Regions from separate parts of the Homo sapiens genome. Here all the other regions are linked to region 3. Evidence: promoter capture Hi-C in 16 types of primary human blood cells and fetal thymus (Javierre and others, 2016). All regions are on one chromosome and are shown on one strand. Each heading gives the region's core, a stretch centred on a gene start or on the middle of the fragment in contact. The rest is flanking DNA. Distances are from core to core; before and after follow the strand shown. Region 1 overlaps LOC107986837. Region 2 overlaps LOC105375457 (a long non-coding RNA gene). Region 3 holds the start of TMEM168 (transmembrane protein 168).

Region 1 (4,645 bases), core at 2,008-4,507, 320 kb before region 3:
GGCTTGAACCACACTTTTTTAGGACAACTTCCCTGACCTGTCTGAGTCACATACCCCACTGTATGCTCACATAGCATTCTTCACCTCTCTTAACAGGTACATATCACGCTGTACTGGAATTTCTGTTACTTATCTTTATCTCTAAACACCCTCACCCCTGTCTCAGGATTCTAAGCTCTGTGAGTGCACACACTGAGTCTCTAATTCATTGTATTTCTGCTTCCAGCATAACTCCTGGCATGTAGAATTTGCTCACCCAATTCTTATAGACTAATTTGTGATATAAAGTTAATGTAGCCCAGGATCCACAGTGGATCATGACATCCCCCAGTGAGCCTGGCTGTGCCCACACTGTCATCAGTACAGCTCTCCCAACCTTTCAGATGTTGCATGGGACAGGCCTGAGATTCTTTGTGATATGTATCATTTTCTTGGACATTAAATTATATTTATAAAACATGATTTTAATAAATATTAAGATATAGGCTAGTTAGTTGAGTTAAATGATTATATATACTATTTATAAAAGCTTGCATTGTATGGACATATTTAATGATCTGTATAACATTTAGTTCAGAAATGATTCATCATTTTGAATGATGAACCATAGGATGATCTTCTCCTTTGCCCTCTCTCGTTCTCTTACTCATACTATACTCCAGCAACAACAGACTGCCTGCATTGGCAAAATCAAATGTCTTGCCATGCTTTCATGCTCATGGAACATTTACAAATGTTGTTTTCTTCATGAAACCTTTTCAAAAAGGAGTTAATGATATCCATCCTCCAGAGTTCACAGTGCATTGTTTTTACCTGTTTTCATTCAACCCTTTTTCACCACTAGCCCTACTGTCCCCTCCCTTCCCATTCACCCCCATATCTGTTGCCTATATCATAAATTTGTTAAAATCAAATTGTGTCTTTTTATCATTGCAAGTACTAACACAGTCAGCTAAAAGAGGTTTCAATAAATATTTGTGCATTAAATTTAGTTCCTAAAACATCCTGAAGAACAGATTAATAGAGTAGCATTGAATAAACAAGTCTATATGCTGACAGAGGTATAATATTAAAGCAATATTATTGCTTTTTAATAACACCGCAGGTTTGGAGCTTCCGTTTTACATACAGTGTTACCTCTGCCTTTCTGAAAGCTGTTGGCAACTCAGATTTACTCTAAGTGTTATCCATTGGAAAATATCCATTATGAAGTAATCACAAGACAGTTTTCAACATATTGCAGTCTTAGAGAATGCTATCACAGGTGATCTCAAAGCCCACATTTCATTCAGCTGAAGGCTGTATCAGAAAAAAAGGGGAAAAAAAGGAAAGAAAAGATACCCAGAGCCCAAACTACTTCTTCATTTTCAAAGATGGCTCTCAAATATAGCCTCAAATAGAATTCCACTTCTCACCCTCAGTCACGGCGAATGGATTATAGAATAGCCAATCCATGATTCCACTCTGCTGTTGTGTTGGGGCTTCCACCCAGGCCCTATGACTTTCTGAAATCCATTCAGTGTCTAGGTATGATTGAAGGTACAAGAAACATTAAAAGTCACTTTTTAGAAATCAACTGCTTCATTCAAATGTTTTGGCCTCTTAAAAAATAGTCTTAGAGAAAAGTGGACTTTATTGATGCTGCCATTATTTAAAGCATATTTGGAATTCATATTTGGAATATGGCATGCCCTTTCAAATACTTCCAATAAAAAGAAGTCTTCATGTTTGAGCACTTGGCTTTTGGAATGAGCCAGAAGCAATTCAGAGCTGAGCCCTGTATGTGAATGAGGTGAGTGAGAAATAGAGCAACCACTCGTGAGCTAATTATCCAATTGAAAGAGAGCTCTGAGCTTCATTTATACCTAGATTCTAAGGACTGGGGAGTTTAAATTACTTGGAGAGGTAAAATTACATCATTTGATAAAATAAATGGTGACTTCAAAGTAACAAAAAATTTTTTTCTGTAACTTATAAACCAAATTAAATGGTTATTACACTATCTAATGTATTGCTTTTTAACTAAAAAAATCATAACATTAGATAATTAGTATATATGGTAATGATATATAGATGACATTAGATAATGATATGGTATATATGGTAATGATATATAGATAACATTAGATAATATCAGAATGACCCATACCTTACCTGTCCTCAGCAAAACTGTTTTCACTCTTCCAAGCCATCTTCCACCTGCATAAATTTAATGAAACTGGATTGGAACATGCATACCATTTTGTCTTCTAGTTTTGTTTGTCTGTTTAACATGTAAGTGTTTCACGGATATTTTAACAATCAAGTAATATTCTACCCCTTATATTTACCATTACTTATTCCAAAACAATACCTTTAATAATGCTGGACATGCCAATGGTATTTAACATCTTGTCATTATTGATAACACTATAATAAGCTTATTATAATACTATAATAAGCAAAATAGATAATTTCTACCAAGTACCAAAAATATATTCATATCCTTTGAACCTGTGGTTTCAGCCTAGAAATTGACTTCTGTATATTAATTCTTACATTATAATTCATCCGTTGCAAATATATACATAAAAATATATCTAATGTGTCTATTGTCCTGATCTTCTAAAGAAGCAAGTTTTCCAACATGGAGGATAACTGAGGTGACTATATACTACTGTACCAGAAATGCTAGAGGTCTGGGTTTATAAAAGACACTCTGAATTCTAGGTGTGGAAAGAAAAGTTTCTAACCCAGGAGAGAAAGTAACAAATCTCCTGTTAGAGAAAAAGTTCAGAGTCACTGTGCACTTTTATAATAAGCAGTTCATAAGAGGGATCAAAAAAAGACTCAGCATATTAAGTGAAAGAAGTATTATATGGTCTTCAATATTCATTTTCAAGATTATTCTTATTGTTTTCATAATTAAAATTAAAACATTATTTGTCCAGTGATCTCTACATTTTTTATTAGTGGTCCATACTAATGATAGCTATCAAGAAATATTATTAATTAAACATTATTACAATAATAAGTACCAAACCACACAAAGAAGTGTTTCTTTCCTCGGTGGTGTTGCAAAGTGACAGAAGTTTATGGCTATGAAAGTCTGTGACATAATTAAAAGAGCACTAAACAAGGAGTCAAAACCATATGAATCCTAGTTCTGGCTATGCTGCAAACAGGCTGTAGGGCACCAGCAGAATCACTCGCAAGTTATTTGGGGACTCATTTTCTTAAAGAAAAATATAAATAAGTAGAAATTGTGTACCCCAAACACATTCACTGCTGAGCACTTAAAACTAGAATTCCCCTTTGAAGGAAGATGAGCAAGGTGAAGGAAGGCTTAGGCAAACAGAATACCCAGAAGTGGGGCCAGCCTTGAAAAGCTACAGAAACAGTTTCCTGATAGATGACATGACTTAAGGAAAGCCATCAGGAAACATCCTAAACACAAATGCCTAAGTTCTATACACTCTCCAGTACTTTTGTGATACCTGATTAATGGTGCCTCTTCTGGGTCTTGCAGGCCTAGAGGTCTTCTGGCTCTTGATACTGAATGCTAATATGACTTTGGGGTCTACACATTAAACTAAAAATAAAAACCTCCAAATGGAACTCCAAAGTGGGATTAAACACCTGATATTGGGTTTAGAGAGAAGAATGAAGGATAAAATTACCAGAAGTGGGGAGAAGGGATGTGGATGGACAATGCACCAAAAATACATAGAAAATTATACCATGTGAGCAAAAGTTGGTCCTACCTAAAAGAAGTTTAAAGTTTTGCTTTATAGTTCATTAAATTAAACATGCCAGCCTAATAGCAATATTCTTAAAAATAGAAAACTTGTCCTTCCTGCTTTGCATTATTCTTGAACACCCAAGATAAAGCATTTAATACAATACACATTCAATAAACATTTGTAGTCTGACTTAAGAACTCTGTCCACAGAAAAAGCCCAAATGGTTTAGATGACAAAACAAAAGATATCATAGGAAAAAATATAATCTATTTCGGCAGCCTGACAAAAATTAAGTAGAATTAAAATAAAATTCAGATTAGAAGCATTACCATAAAAATATAAAATGAAAGCAAGGAAAGAGCACTCAAGCTTTTGTACAAAGATGGACATCTCCAGTTTGTTTATATTTTTGTTTTTTCCAGATAATGCTGGCATAAAGTGGTTGCTATAGCAGTTGTTTTATTTGTATAAATTTAAGGCGCACAAGTGCAGTTTTGTTAAATTGATACTTTGTATGGTGGTGAACCCCAGGCTTTTAGTGTTACCAATACCTGAATGATGTAAATTGTACCCAACAGATAATTTCTCATCCCTCAACTCCCTCTCATCCTCCCAACTTCTGGAGTCTCCAGTGGCTTTGATTCCGCTCTGTATGTTCATGTGTAGCTCCCACTTATAAGTGAGAACATGAGGTATTTGGCTTTCTGTTTCTGAGTCATTTCACTTAAGATAATGGCCTCCAGTTCCACCCATGCTGTTACAAAAGACATTTCTTTCTTTCCTATGGCTGAGTAGAATTCCATTATACACACACACACACACACACACACACACACACACCTTATTCCAACATGGAGGATATCTTGTATTTATATATATATATATAAATATATATAAATATATATAACTATATATAAATATAT
Region 2 (4,305 bases), core at 207-2,706, 370 kb after region 3:
TGGGTCAAATGGTATTTCTGGTTCTAGATCCCTGAGGAATCGCCACACTGTCTTCCACAGTGGTTATACCAATCTACATTAACACCAATAGCATAAAAGCATTCCTATTTCTCCACAGCATCACCAGCATCTATTGTTTCTTGACTTTTTAATAATTGCCATTCTGACTAGCGTGAGATGGTATCTCATTGTGGTTTTGATTTGTATTTCTCTAATGATCAGTGATGATGAGCTTTTTTCCATATGTTTGTTGGCTGCATAAATGTCTTTTGAGAAGTGTCTATTCATACCCTTTCCCCACTTTTTGATGTGGTTGTTTTTTTCTTGTAAATTTCTTTAAGTTTCTTGTAGATTCTGGATGTTAGACCTTTGTCAAGTGGGTAGATTGCAAAAATTTTCTCCCATTCTATAGGTTATCTGTTCACTCTGATGATAGTTTTTTTTTGCTTGCAGAAGCTCTTTAGTTTAATTAGATCCCATTTGTCAATTTTGGCTTTTGTTGCAATTGCTTTTGGTATTTTCATCATGAAGTCTTTGCCCATGCGTATGTCCTGAATGGTATTGTCTAGGTTTTCTTCTAGAGTTTTTATGGTTTTGGGTTTTACATTTAAGTCCTTAATCCATCTTGAGTTAATTTTTGTATAAGGTGTAAGGAAGGGGTCCAGTTTCAGTTTTCTGCATATGGCTAGCCAGTTTTCCCAGCACCATTTATTAAATAGGGAATCCTTTCCCCATTCTTGTTTTTGGCAGGTTTGTCGCAGATCTGATGGTTGTAGATCTGTGGTGTTATTTCTGAGGCCTCTGTTCTGTTCCATTGGTCTATATGTCTCTTTTGGTACCAGTACCATGCTGTTTTGCTTACTGTAGCCTTGTAGTATAGTTTGAAGTCAGGTAGCATGATGTCTCCACCTTTGTTCTTTTTGCTTAGGATTGTCTTGGCTATACAGGCTCTTTTTTGGTTCCATATGAAATTTAAAGTAGTTTTTTCTAGTTCTGTGAAGAAAGTCAAGGGTAGCTTGATGGGAATAGTATTGAATCCCAGTGTTTTCTTTAGTAGTTTCATAGTTTGAGGTCTTAGATTTAAGCCTTTAATCCATTTTTATTTTATTTTTATATATACCCAGAGATAGGGGTCCAGTTTCATCCTTTTGCATATGGACATCCAGTTTTCCCAGCACCATTTATTAAAGAGACTGTCCTTTCCCCAGTGTATATTCTTGGCACCTTTGTCGAAAATGAGTTCACTGTTGAGTATGTATTTATTTCTTGGTTCTGTATTCCGCTCCATTGGTCTATGTGTCTGTTTTTATGCCGGTACCATGCTGTTTTTGTTACTATAGTTCTGCAGTGTAATTTCAAGTCATGTAATGTGATGCCTCCAGTTTTGTTCTTATTGTTCAGGGTAGCTTGGGCTATTCTGTGTCTTTTGTGGTTCTGTATACATTTTAGTTTTTTAATTTTGATTTCTGTGAATAATGTCAGTGTTATTTTGATAGGGATTACATTGAATCTGTAGATCGCTTTGGGTAGTATGGACATTTTAATAATATTGATTCTTCCAATCTATTAACATGGAGATGGATATTTGGATTGTTTATAATCACATGCTACTATACATAATGTCTCTCAATAAATAACTTTCTTCACATATTCTGAATTTGTAGAGATTCTTAAAAGTAGAATTGCTCAATCAACAGGTAAATGCAAATGTAGTTTTATTAGTTAATTCCAAATTATTCCCCATAGGGCCTAAACCATAATGATGACAGTACCTACTTTTCCACAGCCCCACCAACAAAGTATATTAGCAACCTTTTTGAACTTGCCAATCAAATAGATGAGCAGTAAGATTTTTAAATGCTTTTCATTCACTTTTTTCTTAATATAAGCTAGATTGAGTAGCTTTTCACATATTTTAGGGTCATTTTCGTGTTTAAAATTTCTTTCTGATTTAAATACCCAGTTCATTCCTTTTGTTTATAGTGCCTCTTTTTAGGAGTTTTCCTGAATATTCAGCTTGTTAATTTATCTTATGTAGTTTAGAATCAACTTCTCTGACTCCAGAAAAAAAAATGGTTACTTTTAATGTAATGACAATAAGTGTATATATTAACCTGGGAGAACTGGCATCCTCATGATGCTTCATTGTCTAATCCAAGAATACGACACATCTTTCTACTTTTGTGTTTCACAGGAGTGCTTTAAGGTTTTTATCATATCTGCTTAGCACATTTCTTTGTACTCATTTGGCAAAACCACAACAGGATGCAGCTGAACGTTGCTGGAGAAAATTCCACGATCATGCTGACTGGTCTTACTTTAAATTTACTACTGCTAACTGCAAGCGGTGCCTTCATGCTGCTAGGGTGTCACACTACCTTGTCCTTCCATCTCCAGCTCCTTCACATAATCATTCACATCTTCTCCCCTCACCCTTCTCCCATCCTCATTCAGCTGGTTGTCTTGTTTTCTACCTCACTGACAAAACAAAACAATGCAAAACATCAGAAGAGAACTTCTGCCATTTCCCATATGATAATAACGCCAGCCACCCAAATTCAAATCTCTCCATACACCTTCTCTCTGCACAAAAAAAGTACAGTTCAACAAAGAGAGCCAATAAATAAATAAATAAATAAATAAATAACATGTATCTTCAGAATAACTGGGAGACAAAGTAATTGAAAAAGATTTCAATTTAGATGTAAATGGAGGAGGAGGCATTCAAGAGCAGGAGTTGCTCCACAGCCTACCCCAGAACAACACCAGTCTTGTGAGTATTACATGAGGGAGAGGAGAGAGCAGTGGGAGAACCTCAAGAATGTCAGCTGGGGTTCACCCCCCGCAGGAGAGGGGAGAACACAGGTCTCAGATCGTGTGTTGCTTCACCCTTTTCTGCATGGCCCACTGGGGAAGGGCTGAACTTCCCCAAGCATGTGTGCTCTACTTTGCCCCATGTCCCTCTACTGCAGAGGGACTAGGGGATGCCTGTGAATGCCACGGTTACAGCAGGCACCAGGGGCCCTTCAGCAGCCCATGAAGGTCTGGGAGAGGTGTAGGGGCCTAGTTTCCATGGCCGAGGGCTCTTTGGGATCCAGTTGATGGGGTTGAATGAAAGCCTAGAGAGATGACAGTCACACTGGGGAAACAAGACAAACAACAAGCAACTAATAAGCAAGACAGATTGTTACATCTTATGTTTACTCACTGGCATGATAATTTACTTAATTATGTAGCAGAGACAATTCAGGAATGCTATAAGATATAATAAGTTGCTAATCATAGGATGCAAGGGGTAAATACAAAAGATGCTTGAGAACAGACAGATGTTATAAACTAGAGTCACCAGGTCATGGATATCTTGATGAGAAGCAGGGGATCTAAAGCTAGATTTTTATCTCTGGCATAAAAGTTGTTGAGGAGGCATTTGCCAAATGGACCCAAAAACGAGCAGGATGGAGGATGTATATCTGTGACCCACGGGGTGTGTCTGATTGGCATGTTCTAAGAAAGATCTCAATTTAGCCAGCAGAGGGCAAGAGAACACAGAAACCATTCCAAGATTTATGACCTGAAGATTGTTTGGAATAGAAGGATTGTGTAGGTGTCTAAGCAAAAACAAATCACAAAAACAGTTACGAATCTGGCTCTTTTGAAACAATATATTTTAAAACTACATATCTAAAGAAGAGATTGACTACTGTTGGCACTGCAATAAATTCATGCCTTTTTATAAAAAGTCAGAATTTATTTAAACAGTGCATGCCTTTATAGATCCATAAGTGCTTGACAAAATATGGGAACCTCTTTGGAATATTTAACCTAGTATTTTAAGAAACATTTTTATTTGAAGATCCCAGATAAACTGAAACATTTATAAACACACATAGCAGTGATTTATTTTCTAAACCTCAGAAATAGGCTTTTTAAAAGAATGAGAGTCTATCATAAAGGTAGCATGTTATGACATTTGTTAAATAGATGAATTATTCAAAACAAACATATATGTAGTCTATCAAGTAAGAAAGAGTGAAAGAAGCACCTGCCCTTTCCCATAGATATAGGGCAAATGCAGGGTTAGACGTCAGCAAAACCCAGAGGCCAGTGGCCATGTGTCTGCTCCCTCCGATGTCCATCAGCTCCTCCTTTTATGCCGTGCCCCACACCCCCACCTCCATTGCTAAAAGCATGCCAACTATTCAAATAAACTTTCAAGCCCACAGACTCCAGACCCAGGTAGAGAAATGGCAGCAGGCTTCCATCGGGCATTCTAAATGTGCTGTTCACACACTTAATCTGGGTTGA
Region 3 (4,415 bases), core at 165-2,664:
TCCCTTTGTTACTTAGCTGTGGAAAGTTGGGGCTTTCCTTTTGATTTAGTTCTAGAAAGTCAGCATGAATCAGCCGTAAGTTCCTTGCCTCCAGACCCTATTGTCCTGCCTCACAGCTATGTAGTACAGAGTCTGTCACAGGCTACCCAGAAATGTACACAGAGACTGTTAACAGGCTACAGAACAGATTGGGAAAGGGCTCTGGGGTTGTGACCCTCACCAAGCACAGGCATCTTGCATCTCTGACATGTTAATGGTGGATGCCAGCACTCTCACTACTGCCTCGGAAGCTTACCTTGCTGTTAGGGATGGGTTCTCGATCTCTACACTTGCTATACTCCTACAGGTGACCTGGGAGTGTAGCTTTCTGTGCCTTTTTTGACTCATGGCTTCCAGCGGGTACACATGATTAGTTAAACAAGTGTTCAGCATTTCAGCGGCAGCCATTAGACTCTTAACTCAGGTGGGGAATTCTCCAAATACGGAAGGGGATTCAAATGGGGGGCATAATAAATGTATATAAATGTCCATTAAAGGCAAGTTGAGTTGGAAGTGATGACAATATATTTGAGTAGAAACATCTAGCAGGTAGTTGGAAATGTGGCACTCGTGTTCCCCAGAGAGCTAGTTACAGATTTGGGAAGTTGAGTTGTGATTGCTTTTAAAATCAGGAGTCTAGAGAGAATCTAACTCAAAATTTTCATCCACATATGCAGAATCTCAATCTGAGAGTTGTTCATTCCTATAGATGTGCTGGCCACACCAACCCCCAACATCTATTATGAAAATTAGGAAATTCACACTCTATTATGGAAAATAGGAAAAATATATAGATAATACATGCAAAACAAGTGGGAGGAGAGAACTACGGATCGTGGAGAGCCTATTGCATATTATTATTTTACAAATATTTAAGTGCCAACTATGTGTCAGGCACTATGCTAAGGTGATTTAATGTTGAGCAAAACCCGACATGTCCCTGCATTTGAGGAACTGAAAGGTCTGAGGGAGGGCCTAAGGAGCTTGGGCCTTAGCTGGTTACAAAGCCATATATTATGCCATATATATTAATGAGCAGCAACGCCTCCCGCAGTATTTACAGCCCACGCGTGGCAGTCCTGTCCACCCTGTCCCCGTTCGGTCCAGCCCGAGGCGGTGGCCTAGATGCTTGATGGGCACTGTCAGCCTGATCTTTGGTGGTCTTCCCGCTGTCTGTTCTCAGCTGCTGATTCCAGGTCCCAGGAGTCGACTTTGGCTTGAGGAAGGCAGGCGCCTTAGGTGGGGCAGTTGACACTCGCGCAGCGCCTTGCTCACCTGAGTGTGTGGCGGCGCGCGGGTTTGGGCGGGGAGGGGGCCGGGCCTCGGGAAGGAGGCGCGCCGCGCAGTTTGACCCCGGCGGCGTTCCGTACCGTCGCGGATTTCGGCGGCGGAAACATGGCGGTCGCGGCCGGGCCGGTAACGGAGAAAGTTTACGCCGACACTGGCCTGTATTAGCGCGTATGGCCTCGGGCCCTCGTTCCCCAAGGCGTGCCGCCTCCCTGTTCTCAGTCGCAGGCTGAAGCCTTGTCTGCTCTCCTCCTTTTTGGTTTGGTTTTGGAACTGACTCCGAGGGTTGGGAGAGCGCGTTGGTGGCGACGGCCGAGTCAGGTAGGGAGAAATGGGTGGACGGCAGGGCGGCGAGATCTAGGCATAGACACTGCCAGGGCTCCGCGTGGTCCGGACCCCAAGCTCCGCCCAGTCGGCCTCCCAGGGCCGGGGTAGGATACCTGCCTCTGGAGGAGTTGACAGTGGTGGTTGGAGATTGGAGGGTGTGGGAGCGCCTCTCCGTATTTCGCAAGGGTTCCCCCTCAACTGGGCGCCACGTTGTGGTCGCGTTCTCCGAGGCAGAGGATGGTGGAGAACAGCCAAGCTCCTTGTCGGACCTCCCACATCTCGCTAGAAGGAGGCCGAAAGGGAGAGAAATTGCTGTTGCTGCTCTAGTGCTGAGGAGTTTGATATTCTAGATGACATTTTCCTCGTATGAGATGGCTCAAAGAGTTATCAGTAATTCAGAACTGAAGCACTGAAATTCCCTGTTTTTTCAGTGTAGTTCTTTCAGCCTTGACACTTCTAGATGGGACAGAGTTTCTGAGTGAAAGATAATGCAAGTGATACGGTATGCCTCAAGCCATTCCCTAGAGGTAGGACATGGAGAGAGAATTGGTTTGGAAGAATTTGGGTGAATTAAGTAAAGACTGGTGGAAAGCTGAAATAGAAACCAAACATTCATGGACTCTCCCTTAGTTCTACTAGTTATTAGTTGTGGGATATAGCTAAGTTCTGTATTCTCTTTAGGCATTAGTAAGTGTCCAATGGTGACTATTGTTGTTAAATGTAGTTATTTCTTTATTAGTCTTTATTTTTCAACAAGTATTTATTGAATACCTTCTTGATGCCGGATTTTTGCTAGTCACTGGGTGTACAGTATTGAAGACAAACCCTCAGAGACCTTTTGATCTAGTGGGAAATGCAGACATGAAATAAGTGATGGTATGTAACAGAGAAAGTATGGGGGTCATGTAATGGGGAGGGGGCAGGGATAATCTCTTAAGAAAATGATTTATCTGAGACCTGAAGAGTTGGAATAAGCCAGGTGTGAGCACTGGGGTGGGGCCAGGAGGAGGAAAAGGAGTGTACCTGGCAAGGGAATAGCATTTGTGCAGTTTGTAATTGAAAGGTCAGTAAGGTTGGAAAATAAAGTGTGAGAGGAAAACTGGTAACAGATAAGGCAGGAGAGTTATTCAGGCCCAACACGGAGTGCCTTATAAGGCACTGTAAGGAGTTTTGACTTTATTGCTAAGGGTGATGGGACGCCATTGGAGCATTTTACATAGTGGAGTGCTAAATTTTGGTTTTAAAAAGTACACTTCTTAGAGAGGGCAAGAGTGGATACAGGGAAATGTTCAACATGATGGTGGCCAAAATTGGGATGGTGACCCTGGGGACGAGAAGTAGAAACATTTAAAAAATGTTTAGGAAGAATAGTAGACAGGACTTGGTGAGGATTAAATGTAGATGATGGTGGAGAGGAGGGTTAGAATAGTATGTAAGGTTTTATGAAATAATCAGACTCTGGCAGTGATTGGTTAGCTTTTCCCATATGCATATTGACTCCTCTATGGTCCATTTTCATCTACCTCTGGAATAATTGTCCATTGAATCATTAGTGACGGCAAACCGATTGAAAAGGAATGTAATGTTTTTCTGTTATTCTCTAACTCAGGCTGTCTTTTGAAGAAGATCAGAATGGGGAAGAGTTTTGTAAATTAGCCATTTAAAAACAATCTGCCATGTTGATTTTGGTCCATAGGAAGGTAACTGCATATATTGCATTATATGGATGCACTGTACTTCACTAATTTTTTTTTTACATGTTTACATTTACTTTGTTTCCAGGTATTTACCTCTGTTAACAGTGCAGAACAGAGCTGGTGCTTCATTTTCTATAGGTAGATTAATATATGTGTGCACTTAAGTAGAGAGATAATAATCAAAGACATAGAAATAAATGACATTGCTTAGAGAAAGTATATAGTGAGAGAAAAGCCTAGGTTTGGGGTTGAACATCCAAAGGATGGGTTGAGAATGAAGAACCTTCAAGGAGACCGAGGAGGGGAAACCAATAAATTAAGAAAAAAAATCTGGGGAGTTAGTCTTTGGATGCCTGCAAAAAGGAATGGTTTGGAAGGTGAGAGAAGTCAACAATGTAAATTTGTTTAAAGAATATGCAGGATATGGCCGGGTGCAGTGGCTCACACCTGTAATCCCAGCACTTTGGGAGGCCAAGGCGGACGGATCACCTGAGGTCGGGAGTTCAAGACCAGCCTGACCAACATGGAGAAACCCCATCTCTACTAAAAATACAAAATTAGCCGGGCATGGTGGCACATGCCTGTAATTCCAGCTACTTGGGAGGCTGAGGCAGGAGAATCGCTTGAATCCGGGAGGCAGAGGTTGCGGTGAGCCGAGATCGCTCCATTGTATTCCAGCCTGGGCAACAAGAATGAAACTCTGTCTCAAAAAAAAAAAAAAAAAAAAAAAAAAAAAAAAAAAATGCCAGTCGCAGTGGCTCACGCCTGTAATCCCAGAACTTTGGGAGGCGAGGCGGGTGGATCACCTGAGGTCAGGAGTTTGAGACCAGCCTGGCCAATATGGTGAAACCCCGTCTCTACTAAAAATACAAAAATTAACTGGGCATGGCGATGGGCGCCTGTAATCCCAGCTACTCTGGAGGCTGAGGCAGGAGAATCACTTGAACCCGATAGTCAGAGGTTGCAGGAGAATCGCCTGAACCCGATAGTCGGAGGTTGCAGTGAGCCAAGATCCTGCCATTGCACTCCAGCCTGGACAACAGAGCGAGACTCCGTCCCCCCTTC

The links. The method cuts DNA at HindIII sites, captures the fragments that hold promoters and counts their contacts. A CHiCAGO score of 5 or more calls a contact.
Region 1: a fragment that was not itself captured here is called in contact with the fragment with the promoter of TMEM168 in region 3 in 3 of 17 cell types (total CD8 T cells, naive CD8 T cells and activated CD4 T cells); the score reaches 9.4 in total CD8 T cells.
Region 2: a contact is called between a fragment that was not itself captured here and the fragment with the promoter of TMEM168 in region 3, in 1 of 17 cell types (fetal thymus). The highest score is 5.8, in fetal thymus.

Annotation. Positions count from the first base shown.
Region 1 is chr7:113,105,309-113,109,953 of GRCh38, reverse strand. LOC107986837 reads right to left here. Exons shown (of 4, transcript XM_047421162.1): 2 at 2,155-2,199. Among named protein-coding and RNA genes, the nearest start is that of SMIM30, 11 kb to the left of the region's middle. The HindIII fragment of the contact is 1,672 bases long and covers 2,422-4,093 here.
Region 2 is chr7:112,414,304-112,418,608 of GRCh38, reverse strand. It overlaps LOC105375457 (a long non-coding RNA gene), which reads left to right. Exons shown (of 3, transcript XR_001745325.2): 3 at 1-1,648. Among named protein-coding and RNA genes, the nearest start is that of IFRD1, 34 kb to the left of the region's middle. RefSeq lists enhancers at 2,478-2,977, 2,978-3,479. The HindIII fragment of the contact is 6,333 bases long and covers 1-4,305 here.
Region 3 is chr7:112,787,392-112,791,806 of GRCh38, reverse strand. TMEM168 (transmembrane protein 168) reads left to right here and starts at 1,414. Exons shown (of 5, transcript NM_022484.6): 1 at 1,414-1,647. RefSeq lists an enhancer at 1,026-1,155. The HindIII fragment of the contact is 5,754 bases long and covers 293-4,415 here.